2 separate regions of the Homo sapiens genome follow, and region 2 is linked to region 1. Evidence: promoter capture Hi-C in 16 types of primary human blood cells and fetal thymus (Javierre and others, 2016). All regions are on one chromosome and are shown on one strand. The core of a region is centred on a gene start or on the middle of the fragment in contact, and the rest is flanking DNA. Distances in the headings are between cores, read along the strand shown. Region 1 holds the start of RNASE11 (ribonuclease A family member 11 (inactive)). Region 2 holds the start of SNORD126 (small nucleolar RNA, C/D box 126).

Region 1 (2,528 bases), core at 10-2,509:
AACAGGAAGAAGAGCAGGGCAGAAATTTCCAGTCTTTCTGAGACATATATTTCAAGTGGGCAGCATTCACAGCTGCCTAGGTTTTATTTGAAACTGCTAAGAGGTGCCCTTTAAAAAAATATACCTGGCTGGGCACAGTCACTCATGCCTGTGGTCTCATTGCTTTGGGAGGCCAATGCGGGAGGATCACTTGAGGCCAGAAGTTCAAGACCAGCCTAGGCAACATAGTGAGAATCCATCTCTACAACAACAACAACAACAAAAAGCCAGTTGTGGTGGCATATGCCTATAGTCCCAGCCACTCGGGAGGCTGAGAGGAGAGGATTTCTTGAGCCCAAAAGTCTGAGACTGCAGTGAGCTGTGATCACACAACTGCACTCCATCCTGGGCAACAGAATGAGACTCTGATCCTATATATCTGTATAATATATATGTATATACATATTTAGATACAGATAGATAGATATAGATACACACACACCCAAACTACGAATGTCTAAAATGTCACAATTCATTTGAATTTGGTGTTGATCCCTATTGAATGAAATTACTCTGAGGATACATCCTATTGGTTCATCTCAGTTATACTTTTATCTGCAAGATATTTTTAATTAGAAAGGAGGAGCTTCGGTGAAGAAGGGGAGAAAAAGCACTGAAAAGGAAAGAAAAGACAACAAAACCTAGGGAGAGGGATAGAAAAAGGAATCAGAATTCAGAAAATAGATGTAGGAACCTAAAGGATGCATTTCATCCACTTCAAAGTTTTGCCCAAAAAATGATGCTACCAAGGCCCAACAAATCATGTGCTAGGGACCACCTACCTGTTCCTGTTCAGTTTCTATTCAGATGCTGAGGGCTCTGTTTACCTGGTGACACCCAAAATTCTATGGAGACAACAATGACAACAGAATTACCACAGAGAACTAGAAAATGAAACTCAGCTGAAAAACGGCCACCTAAGATGGAAGAAGCCATGAGATGAGTAAGCGTTGCCTACTCACAAGGTTGCAAACTGTCCTTCACTTACGATTATCCCCCAACGCCCCCTCCTAAATCTGATCAATCGCATGGAACTTGATGGTTACAAAAGACAGAGCTAACAACTAGCGTAAGTGCACCTTCTTCTTTGACATGACCTTGAACTAAGTCCAAATGAGCAATGAACAGCTGAAGTCTCTCAACTGAAAAGATCAGGACAGAGAGTGCTCTCCAAAGCCTGTGACCCACCCATGCCTGCTCTAGGTCACTGTATGAGTCTCTAGCTCTCACATACAGGATTGAAATGCCATAGCTCAGAATTAGTGACAACATAATCTGGCCTTTATTTGCCAATTGCCCCTTATTTCTTACTACCTCACAATACAAATTCTCCCCTCCAACAATGGCTATAATATAGCCATTTTCTGTACTACTTAAGAAATAGAATTATAGACTAATAGACTTGGAAAGAACTTGAAAGATTATCTAATTCAAGATCCTCACTTTACAGACAAGGAAACTAATGAATAGAGAAGAAGAGGACTTCATGAAATCCCCAGAATTAGAAATCTCTCTTTCTCGTCCTTCTCCTTCTAGCTGTAAGGATACTATGCCCATAGCTGAATGTGGGGAAACTAAGCAGTAAGTCCAATTGTAAGAACTAAAAAGAGAAAAGAGTTAGTAGTCCGGCTCAAAGTCCTCTCTGTTCCTTCTGGAGACACAAAGAGGAGGTCACTGAGCTCTGAAAGTCTCAATCCCTCCCTGGGAAATCCTTATCTGTGTCTCTCTAAAGTCTTTAAGGGAAATGGTTTCAGACCAGTCAGGCTCCTTTCTTTATTTCAAGACACAAAGGGAGCTGCTGAACAGGAACAGATGCTGCCTGAGTTGTATATGCTATCTTTAAAAAAGACCCTAAGAGGTGACCTCTGTTGCTTCTACAGCTAGAAGCAGAGCTAGGATTAGGCTGAGGTTAATGAGACACTCACTCTAAGACCAAAATTTAAGAGAGTGCCACAAAACTCAATAATCAAGATAAATAATATTTTAATGCAACAATTTTAGAAAATATTTATTTATTTATTTTTGAGACAGAGTCTTGCTCTGTTGCCCAGGCTGGAGTGCAATGGCATGATCTCGGCTCACTGCAACCTCCACCTCCCAGGTTCAAGCGCTCCTCCTGTGTCAGCTTCCCAAGCAGCTGGGATTACAGGCGTGCACCACCACACCCAACTAACTTTTGTATTTTTAGTGGAGAGGAGGTTTCACCATGTTGGCCAGGCTGATCTCAAACTCCTGACCTCAAGTGTTCCACCTGCCTCAGCCTCCCAAAGTGCTGGGATTACAGGCATGAGCCACCACGCCTGGCCAGAAAATAAATTTAATGCAAAATAATCCCTGATGAACAAATGTTAAAATTTTAAATACCAGGATCTGGCCCTGCACTACGTTTCTCACATAACTCATCTTACCCTGATCCTAGCCTTGTCAGATTGGATCTTCAAAATTTTGTGATAGATATTTTGAGCATCCAAGATTTCTTTTTTTTTTTT
Region 2 (2,528 bases), core at 19-2,518, 260 kb before region 1:
TTTCACCATGTTAGCCAGGCTGGTCTTGAACTCCTGACCTTAGGTGATCTGCCCACCTCGCCTCCCAAAGTGCTGGGTTTACAGGCATGAGCCACCACGTCAGGCCAAAACAAAGAATTTTCGTCAATCTATTATGCAGATGTCAAAAATTGCCAGGTAGTACAGAATCTAAGAGAAATATACGCATGGATTCTGATGACAAATAGTTAACATCAAACTGAGCATTTACCGTATGCTTTACCCACACCCTTACTAATTTAATCTTCAAAATAACCACCCTGAGTCAAATACTATTGCCATCCTCTAAAATATAAAACTAAGACATAGATATTAGGAAACTTGCCAATGCTGCATAACTGGTGAAGTGATAGAGCATGCGTTTGAACTCAGTCTGACTCCAGAACCCATATATATACTATACAATGCTACTTCTCAACATCTTTAATTGACTCTTTTTTTTGGAGACGGAATCTCCCTATCACCCAGGCTGGAGTATAGTTGCGCTCTCTCTGCTTACTAAAACTTCCACCTCCTGGGTTCAAGCCTCAGCCTCCTGAGTAGCTGGGACTACAGGCGCACACCACCAGGCCCAGATAATTTTTTGTATTTTTTTAGTAGAGATGGGGTTTTGCCATGTTGGCCAGTCTGGTCTCAAACTCCTGAGCTCAGACAATCCACCCACCTCGGCCTCCCAAAGTGCTAGGATTACAGGTGTGAGCCACCACGCCTGGCCTCAACTGACTTTTAAAAAGTGAAATTTAGCCGGGCGCGGTGGCTCACGCCTGTAATCCCAGCACTTTGGGAGGCCGAGGCGGGCGGATCACGAGGTCAGGAGATCGAGACCATCCCGGCTAAAACGGTGAAACCCCGTCTCTACTAAAAATACAAAAAATTAGCCGGGCGTAGTGGCGGGCAACTGTAGTCCCAGCTACTTGGGAGGCTGAGGCAGGAGAATGGCGTGAACCCGGGAGGCGGAGCTTGCAGTGAGCCGAGATCCCGCCACTGCACTCCAGCCTGGGCGACAGAGCAAGACTCCGTCTCAAAAAAAAAAAAAAAGTGAAATTTATAGCACCTTAGCAGCTGGCCATGAAGTCACAAACCTGAATTTTCAAAGACTCATATATATGGCAAAGCTTCTCAATCTCAACGTAAGCCTTACCATAAAAGAAAAACGCAGTACTCATCTACAGTATATCCAGGATTTACAGCACCAAAGAGGTCCAGACTGGAACAGCGAAACTCAGATCTGGTTTCAGTCTCTTGAAATTTTACTCCTGCAAAAGACAACAAAAGCTAAAAAATTATTTCAAGTCCTGATGTTACTTTGAGTTGTTTGTATTTCCTGTATTTCACCCTTCTTTCTACCTAATTCTCTGCTGAAAATGCAGGCACGGGTAAAGAATATAAGCTTGTCCTAAGTTACCTAAAATAACTTTTAAAATATTACAATACATGAATACAATAAAATTAGAAAATAGGTTTATAATAATAAAAGATTACTTGTAGAACCCAATTCTAGAGAAAATAACCCCCTAGTATTTTAGTATATATGTCCTTTCAGTTTTCTTAAGCAAACATATGCATATAAAAATATTTAAGCAGAAACATATTGCTCTATATAATCTGTTTTTCATGTGTCATGAATACCGTTCTATTTCAATAAACATAAAACTGTATCATAACTTTTAAGTGATTCTATAGTGTTGTACCGTATAGTCTTCACAAAATTGATTTAACCAACTCTGTGTTTCCTTTAATCTACATGTATAGATTGATAAAATAATGATTAGTTTAAAACTGCCAGGCTAAATTGCCTATAGAATTATACCAGTTGCCAGTGCTTTTTCTGTAGTGTTTGAACTTTTAGATTAATGATTCCTGACCCTAGTTCTAACTCACAAAAGTGATTTTTTGGGGATATAGAGATATCACAAAAGATCAAAGCACAACAAAACATTAGTCTCAAATTCATAATTTATTAAGATTTAAGAATTACCTGGGATTACAGACTAAATCCCAGTATGAATTCCAACAAGCAGAATTCAATTGCAGGTGTTTGCCCCTAGCTTTAGTCTGCTCAGAGCATGTGTTTAATCAGGCTGATCAGCTGAAACACGGACTTAACATGCATTTCATCATGGCAAACTGTAAATGACTGAGGAAGGGCAAACCAGCACTGGCTCCTCATCCCTAAACAGGAAAATTCTCCTAAGGTTAGAACTGGGGATTTTTTTTAATTACCAAATTCCATCCACTAATAACACCGAGTCCCAAGTCTTGCTAAGTGATTAGAAATCCAAATGAGGTAAAAACGAAGATTTTGCTCTTACTCTTACCTCTGGCATCACATGAATCCAGCTTCTATCTAGAAATCCAGTTGAACCACAGGATCTATCAATTATCTAGGATCATTTCTGGAAAATTTAAAAAACATAAATAAATTCACAAAGGTTATGATTACATGACAACTCACACCAGCATGTTCTATACCAAGTCACAAGAAAATTTAGAGTAACCGTTCATCCTTT

What was found. The method cuts DNA at HindIII sites, captures the fragments that hold promoters and counts their contacts. A CHiCAGO score of 5 or more calls a contact.
Region 2: a fragment that was not itself captured here is called in contact with the fragment with the promoter of RNASE11 in region 1 in 15 of 17 cell types (neutrophils, M2 macrophages, naive B cells and 12 more); the score reaches 7.8 in neutrophils.

Annotation. Positions count from the first base shown.
Region 1 is chr14:20,586,742-20,589,269 of GRCh38, forward strand. It overlaps RNASE11 (ribonuclease A family member 11 (inactive)), which reads right to left and starts at 1,260. Exons shown (of 3, transcript NM_001394190.1): 1 at 1,119-1,260; 2 at 822-884. RNASE11-AS1 (RNASE11 and RNASE12 antisense RNA 1) reads left to right here and starts at 1,483. Exons shown (of 5, transcript NR_122043.1): 1 at 1,483-1,577. The HindIII fragment of the contact is 10,143 bases long and covers 1-2,528 here.
Region 2 is chr14:20,324,380-20,326,907 of GRCh38, forward strand. CCNB1IP1 (cyclin B1 interacting protein 1) reads right to left here. Exons shown (of 7, transcript NM_021178.5): 3 at 2,337-2,414; 4 at 1,160-1,274. It overlaps SNORD126 (small nucleolar RNA, C/D box 126), which reads right to left and starts at 2,160; the gene lies at 2,062-2,160. The HindIII fragment of the contact is 275 bases long and covers 1,132-1,406 here.